Linked DNA regions of Homo sapiens: regions 1, 3, 4 and 5 are each linked to region 2. The links are contacts of gene promoters, found by promoter capture Hi-C in blood cells and fetal thymus (Javierre and others, 2016). All regions are on one chromosome and are shown on one strand. Each heading gives the region's core, a stretch centred on a gene start or on the middle of the fragment in contact. The rest is flanking DNA. Distances are from core to core; before and after follow the strand shown.

Evidence for each region. Contacts are between HindIII fragments. The CHiCAGO score rates a contact against its expected background, and 5 or more counts as called.
Region 1: a fragment that was not itself captured here is called in contact with the fragment with the promoter of BRPF1 in region 2 in 2 of 17 cell types (neutrophils and megakaryocytes); the score reaches 6.8 in neutrophils.
Region 3: a fragment that was not itself captured here is called in contact with the fragment with the promoter of BRPF1 in region 2 in 1 of 17 cell types (megakaryocytes); the score reaches 6.0 in megakaryocytes.
Region 4: a contact is called between a fragment that was not itself captured here and the fragment with the promoter of BRPF1 in region 2, in 3 of 17 cell types (megakaryocytes, total CD8 T cells and naive B cells). The highest score is 9.8, in megakaryocytes.
Region 5: a contact is called between a fragment that was not itself captured here and the fragment with the promoter of BRPF1 in region 2, in 3 of 17 cell types (neutrophils, monocytes and naive B cells). The highest score is 8.5, in neutrophils.

The regions. Positions count from the first base shown.
Region 1 is chr3:9,432,827-9,435,526 of GRCh38, forward strand. It overlaps SETD5 (SET domain containing 5), which reads left to right. Exons shown (of 23, transcript NM_001080517.3): 4 at 1,019-1,124; 5 at 1,508-1,659; 6 at 1,998-2,056. Among named protein-coding and RNA genes, the nearest start is that of SETD5, 37 kb to the left of the region's middle. The HindIII fragment of the contact is 2,635 bases long and covers 21-2,655 here.
Region 2 is chr3:9,730,379-9,733,078 of GRCh38, forward strand. It overlaps BRPF1 (bromodomain and PHD finger containing 1), which reads left to right and starts at 1,357. Exons shown (of 14, transcript NM_001003694.2): 1 at 1,357-1,760. RefSeq lists enhancers at 793-1,352, 1,913-2,472 and silencers at 816-1,175, 1,646-1,695, 1,706-1,835. The HindIII fragment of the contact is 5,381 bases long and covers 186-2,700 here.
Region 3 is chr3:9,467,076-9,469,775 of GRCh38, forward strand. The region is part of intron 18 of SETD5 (SET domain containing 5); the gene reads left to right. Among named protein-coding and RNA genes, the nearest start is that of SETD5, 71 kb to the left of the region's middle. The HindIII fragment of the contact is 1,914 bases long and covers 331-2,244 here.
Region 4 is chr3:9,450,397-9,453,096 of GRCh38, forward strand. The region is part of intron 16 of SETD5 (SET domain containing 5); the gene reads left to right. Among named protein-coding and RNA genes, the nearest start is that of SETD5, 54 kb to the left of the region's middle. The HindIII fragment of the contact is 872 bases long and covers 979-1,850 here.
Region 5 is chr3:9,989,936-9,992,635 of GRCh38, forward strand. All of the region lies in intron 2 of EMC3-AS1 (EMC3 antisense RNA 1), which reads left to right. It also overlaps a transcript of EMC3 not described here. Among named protein-coding and RNA genes, the nearest start is that of EMC3-AS1, 4.4 kb to the left of the region's middle. The HindIII fragment of the contact is 3,447 bases long and covers 1-2,700 here.

The DNA.
Region 1 (2,700 bases), core at 88-2,587, 300 kb before region 2:
TACAAAAAGATACTAAACCAAGCTTCTCACTAAGCCTGGTTAATAAAGGTCTCAAATAATTTTCTTTAAAGGACTGAATGTCATTCTCATTTCTGTAGTGGAAAGAGCATAGACTTTGGAGTCAGACAGACTTTGTTTCAAATCTTAGCTGTGTCAGTGTGTAACCTTGGGGAAGTCATGTAATCTCACCACCACATCTTCCCACTCTGTAAAAATGGAGTATATACCATGTTTAGTGGTTGCTGAAATTAAATGAATTAATATGTATTTAAAGCACCTAACAAATATTGGGCAGTTCACAATGGTAGCCATTACTGTTGTTATTATTTGTCAGTAGACTAACATAACTTTACAGTTTAGTTTTTATTTTGAAGTTCTATGGTATTATCATGCAGCTGATAAATAATTTTGTCCTTAATATGCTTGCATGTCATTGGTGGATGAGAAATTATTACTCTAATATTTGAAAGGTGTTGGGGGTTCATCAAGATGAGAGGTATGATAAATATAAGATGCCATTGTTTTTACCTGTACTTTCTTCAGGGTATCCTGTCTTGGTAGTGAATGGAAGAGGGCCTGGTCCCTGGGGCAGTGCAGAAGGCACTTTGATCATCTCACTCACTGCAAATGTCATGTGAGGTTTCATGGAAGTATTAAGAGATCCAATTAAGAAGAATAGTTCTGAGTCTAAACCAGCCCAGAGTGGCTTCTCTAGGGGAAACTCCCCGCTCAGCTGGTACGTTTGTGTTTGTCATTAGGGACACCTTGTATCTCAGGTGCCTGCCTTCAGACATCTGCCTGTACTGGCTTCATGTTACACACAAATCCACATTTAATAACACTCCTACTGTTATTTATAGGCTTAGTTATGTTAATAAGATTGTTTCACCGAGTTCTTTCTCTTATCCTAGTGGCTAGTGGTTGTGGAAAGAGGAGGGGTTAGAATGGGAAATGAAGTGTTAGTTTAAGGGAAGATTAGGTGTTATGCTATCATGCATTGCTTTTCGCCTTTGTGCAGCCCTGAATCTGTGGAGGCTAGTCCAGCAGTTAATGAGAAGAGCGTGTATTCCACTCATAATTATGGGACCACTCAGAGGCATGGGTGTCGAGGACTGCCTTATGCTGTGAGTATGCATTTGTTTCTCTCCAGAACAGTGATCTTCCTGGAGTGTAATCCATTCTTATACATTGTGACTTTCTTGAAATGTTTATATGCAGCATGACGAAGTTGCCCCTTTTGCACTTCCCTGACTCCAGCGGACGTCTAGCCCTGCATCATTGTTCTTGTTTTTATGTCCCAGTTGACCTTGGCATTTTGTTTTATCACTTTCCTGGTTGAAGCCAAAAAACAAAGGGTACTACTTTCTTCTTTCTTTCCATATGTACCATACTTTAGGGGAGAGAGGGGCCAGTGTTTGGACACTGTTGATTTAAAAAATCTTATTTTCAGGATCATAATTACGGAGCCCCTCCTCCTCCGACACCTCCTGCTTCTCCCCCTGTCCAGACGATCATCCCTCGTTCTGACCTGAATGGCCTGCCGTCGCCTGTAGAGGAACGCTGTGGAGACAGCCCGAACTCTGAAGGAGAAACTGTACCTACCTGGTGTCCTTGTGGTCTTTCTCAGGATGGCTTCCTTCTCAACTGTGACAAGTGCAGGTAAGATCCTGTTCCATCTAAATTTAAGTCTGGGTTGCTGGGATTAGGGTTTCTTACAAGTAGGGAAAAGCTCAAAGTATTCTTTCTTGTGTTTGTTAATGTAGATGATTCCTTAGTGCTCCTTGGCTCGAATTCTCTGCACTAGGTGAGAATTGCTGACAACAAGGAATGAGAGATTGATGTTAAAGCTATTGAATTTGATATGAAATTTAATGTCCTGGAAACATTTGGTAGGTGGGAGGGAGGGGGTAGCATATGCAGAGACACTTCGCCCATGTGTGCTATGATGTGATGCATGCTGTTGGAAGGACTACTTTAAGTTTATTTTCCCTCTTTAGGGGAATGAGCAGGGGGAAGGTTATTAGACTTCATCGGCGGAAGCAGGACAACATATCAGGTGAGCGGAAGATGGGTTAGGTCCACAATTTGACATAAAAATATTCTGTGATCTGAATGTTCATTTTAAGAACCCCTCTTGGCCAGGCGCAGTGGCTTACGCCTGTAATCTCACCACTTAGGGAGGCCAAAGCGGGCGGATCACCTGAGGTCGGGAGTTTGAGACCAGCCTGACCAACATGGAGAAACCCCATCTCTACTGAAAATCCAAAATAGCCAGGTGTGGTGGCGCATGCCTGTAATCCCAGCTACTTGGGAGGCTGAGGCAGGAGAATCGCTTGAACCCGGGAGGCGGAAGTTGCCATGAGCTGAGATTGCGCCAGTGCACTCCAGCCTGGGCAACAAGAGCAAAACTCCCTCTCAAAAAAAAAAAAAAAAAAAAAAGAACCCCTCTTACAAGTTCCCATGGTCCCCCAGCCAGCTCTTTTCACAGAAAGAGATAGAAGTCCTCTCAAGACCACTGTATAGTTCTCTCATTGTAAACGAAATGTGTTGAGAACAGTTTAGTCCTGTAGCAAAGTATTCCTTGTGAACACAAAAAATATGGATTCCTGTTTTAAAAATTAGCCAGTCTCAAATTGTTATAGATTGAGTCAGCGAAGCTTAGGGACTGAATACAAGGGGAGAAATAAATACCATGAGGAA
Region 2 (2,700 bases), core at 107-2,606:
ACTTTACCCATAAGGAAACTGAGGCTCTGAGAAGATGAGTCATTTAAGATAATTCATCAGTTTGACTTCAGATCCCAAGATCTTAATCAGCAAACCTCTTCCTGGCATGTCGATTTTATTGGGATGGTTTTTAGAAAACATACATTTTATTGGGTCAAATGCAAAGTTTGCATTAAGAAGATAGAAGCTTTCAGATGCTTTGGGCTTTGTCCCAGAACCCTGGAAGACCTTTCACGCTCCTCTTTGATGACAAAACTGGAGAAGTATTGTTTAAGGATGTCTCCCCCTGCCATGCAAGTTCTCTGAAACCCTCAAGAACTAACAACAGAGTTTTCGAGCTCTGTTTTACAAATAAGGAACTTAAAGAACTGAACTTGCCCACGTTCACATTGCTAGGAGGTGACCCACTCACATTAAATCAGCTGTTTTGGCACCATGTTCCAATCAGCAACCCGCAGCACATCCCTGCCAACCCACAGATTTCCCACCGCTTTACCAGACAAGCCCTTTCACACCCACCGGCCCCAAACCAGCCCCTTCTCTCAGACCCATACCTTTTCTCTAGCACCTCTCCTTTACTTTTCCCAAGTTTCTTCCCTTTCCTTCAGTCACGCCCCGTTATCCCTAATCGGTCCTGCCCTTTCCCCACAGCTCCGCCCCTGCCTTACCAAGCCCCGCCTGCTCCCTTCAGCGTCGCATCGCTTTTTCCAACTTTGTTCTTTATTTCTAGTCCAGCTCCACTTTCCAGGCTCATCCAAAGCTCCGCCCTTTCTCTCGCGAGTACTCTTCTTCTGTTTAGCCCCACTTTTTACCCCGCTATTCTAACAGGCCCCCGCTGTGCGGTAGCCCCGCCCCCTCCCACAAGCCCCGCCCCACAGACCGGTCTAGTCTCCAGCCCCGCCCCGGTCCTACCCATAACTACCGGTCCCTTAGGCTCCAGCCCGCATCCCTCTTGCTCCCGGCCCTGCCCCCAGCCCCGCCCCGTGACTCTGGCCCCGCCTCACCGCCTTCCTCCGAGACCAAGGCCAGGTCCCTCCCGCAGCCGCGGCGCCAGCAGGAGGCAGGGAGCGGATAGGGAGGAGGCAGAGGGGGAGGGGAGAAGGGCGGGCTCCTCACGCCCAGCCCCGCGCTCACCGTCCGTGGTTGCAGATTCGCCACAAACCGCCCGACGACCCCAGATCCCGAGTACGGTGACTTCAGTCTCCAGAAACTCCACTCTAAGATGGGAGAGCTAGAGAAGCCCTGTGGGGTGTCCAGGGTCCTTTCTGAATCCCGGAGCACGGTCTTTCGAGCCTCAGCGGGCGGGCGGGGATCCGTGGCGAAAGTGCAGCTCAGTAGCGCCGCGGCGCCACGTTTACCCTGCGCAGACGCCGTCGCCGCCGCTGCTGCCGCCGCCGCTGCCACAGCCTTTGCCGCCACGGTCTCCGCCGCCGCTGTCCTCGCGCTGCCTCTGGGAGCCTCCATTGTTCCAGCAGCGCCCGGTCCCGAGACCGGGCATCTTGGGGGCTCGCGAAACGGGCGGCGGCCGACGGAGTTGAGACCCCAGGGCGCCGGCGGGACCAGGAGCGGCAGGGGTCAGCTCAGGAATCCCGGGGAGCCGGGACCAAAGCGTGGGGCGGCAGGGGGCCGGGGTGGCGAGGTCTACGGTCTCCGGAGTTGGGGCTCCCCCTTCCCGGCCCGACTTTCCCCGCCGACCTCCCCAAGTGGGGTCGGAGCCCCGGCGGGCGCCCCCGGCGATGAGCCCGGACTCGAGGTGGCCGGTGAGTGCGGGCCTGGGACCAGGGCGGGAGTGGCCGGCAGGGAAGGGGTAGGCTACGTTCGTGGGACGCGCACTGAGCCGCGTGGCCCGGGAACCTCTCTGGCAACTCCAGTTGGGAGAACTGACAGTGCATTGCTTCCCAGCAGGCATCCTGGGGCAACAGTGTATCTTTCGGGGCTGCCCGGGCTAGTGGCAGGCGGGGAGCCTTGTTTCACTTGTTACACTTCCACAAAGGGGAAACGCCGCCGCATCCGGAGAGTGGGCTGCGGGCACTGCCGGGGCCCAGCCCTATCCCTCCGGCCCCCGCCCCTTACTTCCTCCAGCCCCCTGAGCTTCAGGGGCAGATGCAGCCGCCATTCTCCTTGGGCCCTCCCCACGGGCTTTCTGGTCTAAGTTCTCGTCTCCCTCGCCTGTGCCTCTGCTGCCGGGTTCCAAGGGGAGATTGCTGATTCGCTGTGCTACTTTGGGAACCATTCACCCGGGACCCAGCTTGGAAAGAGGAGAGCTTGTTTGTGCTTCGGTTGGTTTATGTTTAAAGACACAGCCGCAGGTAGGAAATAGAAGAGTTGCAGTTGGACGTGTAGCGTTACTGATGTGAAAATCAGGAGCCGTTGACAGTGGAGCTGGAGCAGCCCACTTGCCTGGTTAAGGCACAGGTGGAGAGGCCAAGAGGGGTTATTTTGTCAGGGAGCTCATGATAGCCCTGCCTGGCTGGGATGGTGCCAAGCCCCTAGCTGAATGGTTGAACTCAACTAGGCCGAGAGAAATTGGGGCAGTCTCTGACCAAGCTGGGCTTCCTGAGGCCTGGTGCCATCTGCTGTCTACACTCACCCAGGAATGTTGGGGAGCGGGGAGGGAGGGCCCCTGCGGACCAGCATGGAGCTGAGCATGCCTAGATTGTCGCGTTCGTGTTTGTACCCTTAGGGCCTGGCACTTGGTAG
Region 3 (2,700 bases), core at 38-2,537, 260 kb before region 2:
GTAATCCCAGCTACTCGGGAGGCCAAGGCAAAGGAATTGCTTGAGCCTGGGAGGTTGCAGGGAGCCAAGACTGCGCCACTGCATTCCACATTCCAGCCTGGGCAACAGAGGGAGACTCTCTCTCAAAAAAAAAAAAAAAAAAAAAAAAACAACCTTACTAGATTAGTTTGGGGAAGGATATTTTTGAGAAGGAAAAAAGCATTCAGGAAAATGGTGAGAAGTCTTAAGTGCTAAGGGGAAGAAGGTAAGAAGATAAACAGTGGAAGAGAACAAGATCTTCAGGAGGGGAAAGCATCTAGAAAGAAGAGTGGAAGCAACATTGGGAGGACAAGCTTAGTTAGCCTCTCCTTTCTACCAGAATAACCCTCCCCTCCTATTCTTGCCCTGAGAGCCATACTCCACCCGCCATTTCACACATACGTGCACCTAGATGTACACCACCCACTGTCCATGCCAAGTAAAATTCACAGCCAAAACCCTGCTTTGCTGAAGCAGCCTCATTTCCCCTACCTCAGCATGTGCCTGCCACCTAGGCCACAGTTATTCAGAGTCTACATTAGGCACCCTCTCCTTACCTCAGCCCTAGCACCCCTGAGTCATTGTCACACTACCACCTTCACTCTCTTCACGTGTTCCCATTTACATCTTTCCATTAAGCACTCACTGCTCAGTCTCTGTTATGGGACTGCTGCCTCACCTGAAAGTCCCAAGGTAAAGTCCTACCCTCTGTAGGATACAGGGACCTAAGTATACACATACATGCTTTTTCTGCTCTGTTGCCAAAAGTACAATGGATTTTACAAAATAACATTAATAGGGGTGGCTCAGGTCTAATTAGATTATGCCAAGAACCAACTCTAGCCTGTGAGCTAGGGATTCCATCAATCACATTTCCTGTAACTGTCATTCAAGAGGAACTGGCCATCTCCCTAACCATGTCAGCCCCCAGCACACTAATGTCTCCCCCTGGATAGCACTGGGAGGGCCTGAGGCATATAAGAGAATAAAGAAATGTGACAAGCAGAAGAGGCATTGGATGAAGGAACAAGGTCCATGTAAGGAGGAATAAGGGGTAGGGTGCCCCTCAATAACAAATACTGTAGGTTGCTAAACTCTCATCTAAAATACAAAGACGTATAACACTAAAATTTCACCAGTCTAACTCTTTCCTTGTATGTGCTTGAGATGTTTACTTACAGCATGAAACATTATAACCAATTTATCCTTAAATGCTTTCAGAGATACCAGGAAGCATTTTAACAAGTCATTCTGTCCATTGAGATGAGTTCTGCAGTTAAATATTTCCCCTATGCATTCTTATTCAACTTCCCCGCCCCCGAAAAAAGTTATGGCTAACATCTATGCTTGCTTTTATTTTTTGTTTTGTTTTGCTTCTTGACTTCGAGTAGATGAATAATAACAAGATGCTTTTCCCTCCTCTAGAACATATCCTCCCCTGAGAGTTCCCCTGCGCATAGGCCCGAGTCCCTGTCACCCGAGGTAGTTATCACACCATCTCAATCACACTTGGAGGCTGAGAGTGAGTGTTCATGAATGTGTTCCTGAGTGTGTGGGGAGGGCTGGGGATCTGAGTCAGTGGGGTGATGGGCTGGAGGGCGGCCACTCAGTCACAGTAAGTTGAATGAGTCTTCCTGTGTGACTGTGACTACACAGGACTGTCAATGTAGATGGAGGAAAATGAAGGTAGGAGCGTGTGTGTTTGTGTGTGTGTGTGTTGTGTGTGTGTTTGGTGGGGTTGGTTTTTGCCGTTTGGGGGAGGGGGTGGCTGGAGTTCTATTAAAGAATAGAATCTAGAAGTCAAGATGCTGATATGTGGTAGGAGCCTTGTTAAAGAAAGGCTAATAAATCAGGAAAGTTGAGTCAAAAGTTGTAAGAGCTGTTTTTTGAGTTGGGTGGTGACTTATGCCTTGTTCTAGGGTTAATCTAACAGCTCTGTAAACCAGATGTTTTGACCTTTGGTTGATAGATTGAGCAGCTTCTTCAGGAAGGGAAAGTCATTCTGTCTTTCAGCTTTCCTACATTTTCTCTGCAGCTCCTTACTGGGTGCACAAGGAAACCAAGTGAGTCCCTGGCTTTCTGTCACAGGCCACCATTCTGCAATGGTTAGGATATGGTTGCTATACAAGTGTTATCTCTTTAGGATATCAGTAGAGTGGTTTTCTCACAAACCCTACTGCTGTGGATATGTCAAACTCAGATTTTAGTGCTAGAGTTTCTATTATAAGCTTTCAGATTTAGTAACATTAACTCTGAATCTATTAATACATGGGACCTTTTTTCTCTTGAAGAGAAAGTTAGAGTCTCTCAGAAATAGTCAACTGAACTTTAACCCTATCCCCTTCCAATAAAAAATTAGGGCATAATTCAGTGACAGTCTACTAAGTTCTGAATCAGTAGTAGTTCACAGGTTAATATGAAACTGAAAAAGGTTTTATTCCACTAGTATATTAGAGATTTTCTTGGTGTTTTGACTCTAGCTTGTTAGGAAAGTAAAGCTCTCTCTCCTCAGTTGTTAAAGATTCTAAGATAACGTAATTTGAAGACTGATATGGTATGGTATCTGGTTTTCTGGTACCATTCTTTGTCGGTTAGCTGTAGTTGACCTAGTGTTGGAAGTTTGGAGGTTATGATAACCAAATAGTAGGTGGGGTTTATTTTTGGTACATTTCAGCATTTCAG
Region 4 (2,700 bases), core at 165-2,664, 280 kb before region 2:
AAATAGGATCTTTAAAAACTGTTTAAGTCATTGCTTTATTGTGTGCTGTTCACATATCAAGATTCTATTTTTTAAAATACAGCTTTTTATGAGGCAAAATAAAATGAAATGGAATGTTTTAGCTAGAATAGAATTTGGCTTTATAGCAGTGAAGAAGAGTTCTTCTTCTAATATTGGTCTTCTTCTAATATCTCCTAATATTGGTTAGAAAGGACTTACCTAATGCAGAACCTAAGAACATTTTCATTATTCAACAAAATTGTAATAAAATTCTGAAAATCCCTCAGAGTATAAGTTAATCAGATAGATAAGAAAACCCTCCATGGGATTATTTAGAACAATGTATATTTCTAATAGGCTCACTGTTTCATATCTCACTAAAGAGGTAAGGGCCTGGCCTTGTAAGTTAAAAACTTACCAGTATAGGACAAATTAAAGTTGTATCTGTATAGTTGTACTCAGATTCTTATGCTATTTATTTTTATTTTTATCATTATTATTCTGCAACTTCTGAAAAGAAGAGGAGTTCAGGTATTTGACAGAACATTTTATGATATCCCTAGAGTTTCTAAATTGAATCATAGTTTTTAAGAAGCATTTTGCATTTTTTAGTTCCTCAGTTGGTATTTTAAAAACATTTATAAGTGGCCAACAAGGCTCTCAGTAGTGTTTCACCTTGTTCTCTCTAAACTCCTCTTCTAAACACAATGTGTATAGGGCATTTGGTCTCCAGACTTCTTAGAAAAACCAGTCTGACTGATAATGAAACAGTGTGCTTTGCATTGATAATTAATATTTCATTTTATACACTGGAGCATTATCTGTAAATCTCCAAACATAGCATTGAAATTTAGTTGAACCGGGACTCGGTGAAAATCTGCTCAGTGTTCAGTACTGTACTATAAGCTTTCTTCACATACATTATCTCACTTACCATGCATGAAATTGGGATCATTGTCCTAAATTTATATATCCAGAAGCTTTGTCTCAGAAATGTTTGGTAACTTGTCCAAAGTGAAGCAGCTAATAAGTGACACAGCCAGATTTCTTCTGGTGGGGGATAGTAGGGGTTCACAGGGTCTCACTGTTGTCCAGGCTGGAGTGCAGTGGCATCATCACAGGCTCACTGCAGCCTTGACCTCCTGGGCTCAAATGGTCCTCCTACCTCAACCTCTCGTGTAGCTGGGACCACAGGCACACCACCACGCCTGGCTAATATTCATATTTTTTGTAGCGACAGGGTTTTGCTGTGTTTCCTAGGCTGATCTCAAACTCCTGAGTGCAAGGAGTCTGCCCACCTTGGCCTCACATTCTGCTGGGATTACAGATACGAGCTACTGAGCCCAGCCTCACAGCCAAGTGTCAAGCCAGGGCTTCTGGACTCCAAAACCTGTATTGCTTCCTTGCTCTTTCGCCATAATAGCGAGACCTTTAAAATATTTATCCATCTTTGAGCCTCCCAGAAAACTCCTTTGCAATATATTTTAATAGAGGTTCAGAGAAGGGAGAAATGTTCTTTTGATTTTAACAACTTGCTGAGTAGGTGCATCTAAAATTAACTTATTATCCATGAGGTTAATTGTATCTTGTTAGATACAAACAAATGTCCATGTTCCTTTTTTATATGAGTCCTGAAATATTGTAAAATTATACAACAGAACCTGGAGGAGTAGGTTTGATTGTATTTGCTGTGTTTCACCTCATAGCTAACCATGGTAGCATCTTTCTTCTAGAATACTCCTGTTCTGATTTTATGTTCCCTTTTTGTAGTCATCAGATCCAGAATGTAAATTATTTTACAAGTACATCTACTAGACCCTGGAAATATTAAAAAATTACTCAGATAGGAAAGCTTAGTGACCCCAAATGAGTGTTTTCTGCTTTGAAAAGAAAAACTTAAAGGTGGCCATAACAAAAGATTTTTCACTCCTGAGCCTAATTTTTCCATTTATAAAATGAGTGCTTTGGACAAGATGACTTCTAAGTTCTCTTCTAAGCTTTAAGGCTATATGTATGGTTCTGACAATTCATCTTTACATCATTATTCTGTATCTAAGATAGTTCATTCTTCGGATTTTTTATTTTGTTTTTGTGTTTGCTTTTCAGAGACCTGGTTGTATCCTAAAATGTTTACGTGATTCAAATTACCATTGAGAGCTCTTTTTTATATCCTTGTTCACTCTTCCTTCCAAGTGTTTACAGGTTTACAGTTTCAGTTTTGCTTTCATTTGGCCAGCCACAATGACATTTGTATGATGTAAGATTTTTTTTTTTTTTTTTTTTTTTTTGGTAAAATTTTTGTGGATTGTTTCCTAGGTTTCTAAGAGGGAAAATCTATGAGAATTGCTCTCTGGTGAAGAGAGTATTTACTTACCTGTAATACATGTTCTCTAAAGGTATAAATTATAATAATTCACCTTTGCTCTTCCTATTGGGGGAGGGTCTTACTCAGAAATTGATGTTTATCAAAATTCGATCTGTCTTATGTCAGGGCAGGAGAGCCACAGAGTGGTGAGCAACCTACAACTGTATATCTTAAGAGAACACAATTACAGGTAAGAAATTTTCTGTCTTCCACAGGATACATAATCTTATTATCCTAATCTTTGCAGGTTTACTATCTGGCCTAAATTTATTTCTTGTCAGTTTATTATTCTAATCTTTACTACCAAAAACTTGTGACTGATAGGTCTTCTTTTT
Region 5 (2,700 bases), core at 143-2,642, 260 kb after region 2:
TTTTTTGTCCTGCTTGCCTTTTTAACTTTTTTTTTTTTTTTTTCCTGGAAGCATAGACTCAGATTGCCCTGAATACACTCCCAGTGTTTTCTCTTTTTTTTTTGAGACAGAGTCTTGCTCTGTCACCCAGGCTGGAGTGCAGGCAGTGGCGCAATCTCAGCTCACTGCAAGCTCCACCTCCTGGGTTCATGCCATTCTTCTACCTCAGCCTCCCGAGTAGCTGGGACTACAGGCGCCTGCCACCACGCCCGGCTAATTTTTTGTATTTTTAGTAGAGATGGGGTTTCACGTTGTTAGCCAGGATGGTCTGGATCTCCTGACCTTATGATCCACCTCAGCCTCCCAAAGTCCTGGGATTACAGGTGTGAGCCACCGTGCCGGGCCTTTCTCTTTTTTTTTTTTTTTTTTTTTTTTTAAGAGACTAAGTCTTGCTCTGTCACCGAAGGTGGAGTGCGGTGACAGCATCATAGTTCATTGCAGTCTCAAACACCCGGGTTCAAGCGATCCCCCCACCTCAGTCTTTGGAGTAGCTGGGACTACAGGCAAGCACCACCAGGCCTGGCTAATTCTGTTAGTTAGTTAGTTAGTTATTTTGAGAGAGTTTCGCTCTTTTGCCTAGGCTATAGTGAAGTGCCACAATCTCGGTTCACTGCAACCTCTGGCCCCTGGGTTGAAGCAAATCTCCTGCCTCAGCCTCCCTAGTAGCTGGGATTATAGGTGCCTGCCACCATGCCTGGCTAATTTTTGTATTTTTAGCAGAGATGGGATTTCACCATATTGGCCAGGCTAGTCTCAAACTCCTGACTCAGGTGATCCACCCACCTGCCTCAGCCTCCCAAAGTGCTAGGATTACAGGTGTGAGCCACCACGCCTGGCCAATTCTTTTATTTATTTATTTATTTATTTATTTTTTGAGACGGAGTCTCGCTGTCGCCCAGGCTGTAGTGCAGTGGCACGATCTCGGCTCACTGCAAGCTCCGCCTCCCGGGTTCACGCCATTCTCCTGCCTCGGCCTCCTGAGTAGTTGGGACTATAGGCGCCCACCACCTCGCCTGGCTAATTTTTTGTATTTTTAGTAGAGACGGGGTTTCACCATGTTAGCCAGGATGGTCTCGATCTCCTGACCTCGTGATCTGCCCGCCTTGGCCTCCCAAAGTGCTGGGATTACAGGTGTGAGCCACCGCGCCCGGCCATTCTTTTATTTTTTATAGAGATGAGGTCTTGCTGTGTTTCCCAGGCTGGTCTCAAATTTTTAGCTTCAAGTGATCCTCCTGCTTGGGCCTCCCAAAGTGCTGGGATTATAGGCATGAGCCACTGCACCCAGCCCTCATATTTTTCTTTTTTAAACTTAGGTAAACAAGCTAATTGTGGAGAAAAATCCACAAGGAATCTACAGATGTAAAAAATACAGTTTTTCTCTGCTCTCTTTCCCATTCCTCAGGGGTAATCATCCTTCCAAATTTTTTCTCTTCATATACAAGCTGTAATTGTGTGCAAGTACAGGTATACTCTTATGCCTACACATATATATGTTTATATATTGTTTTTACAAAAGCAGAATCTTAACTATGATTATGGGTGGTGGTGGTGGTGTTTAAAGAGACAGGGTCTCACTCTGTCGCCAGGCTGGAGTGCAGTGGCACAATCGTAGCTCACTGTTGCCTCCACCTCCTGGGCTCAATGATCCTCCCTCCTCAGCCTCCCAAAGCAGTGGGATTATAGGCATGAGCCTTCATGCCCAGCCTGATTATCCTTTTGCAGGCTGCTGTTTTTTCCACTTCATATCAGGAATGTCTTTCCTCTGTCAAAAAATAGAGTATGGCTCAGCAGTCCCTAACCTTTTTGGCACCAGGGACTGGTTTCATGGAAGACAGTTTTTCCACAGACCGTTTCGGGGCATGATTTCAGGATGAAACTGTTCAACTTTAGATCATCAGGCACTACTTAGATTCTCATAAGGAATGTGCAGCCTAGATCCTGCGCATGTGCAGTTCACAATGGGGTTTGCGCTCCCGTGAGAATCTAATGCAGCCGCTAATCTGACAGGAGGCGGATCTCAGTGGTAATGACCACTTGACCACCCCTCACCTCCTGCTGTGCAGCTTGGTTCCTAGCAGACCACAGACTCCGTGATCCAGGAGTTGGGGACCCCTGATCTACCTTTTTCTTTTTTTTTTAAATTTTGTAATTAAAAAGTCTTTTTTAGACAGAGTCTCGCTGTGTCACCCAGGCTGGAGTGCAGTGGCACAATCTCGGCTCATTGCAACCTGCACCTCCCGGGTTCGAGTCGTTGACCTGCCTCAGCCTCCTGAGTAGCTGGGATTGCAGGCAGTTGCCACCACGACTGGCCAATTTTTTTTTGTATTTTTTAGTAGAAATGGGGTTTCACCGTGTTGGCCAGGCTGGTCTCGAACTCCTAACCTCAGGTGATATGTGTACCTCAGCCTCCCAAAGTACTGGGATTACAGGTGTGAGCCCCCACGCCCAGCCTGGCTTATCCTTTTTGATGACTATAATATTTCAAAAATTAAAATTACTCCATCATAATTTACTGAACCCTTTCCAGATTGATGGGCATTTATAGTCTTTCCAACTTTTCACAAAGTAATTTTTCTAGTAATAGTGAAAATACATACTGGAGTTGGCAAGTGATTGAATCTTTTAATAAATGTGAAGATGTTCAAAGTTACTTCTGTAGTA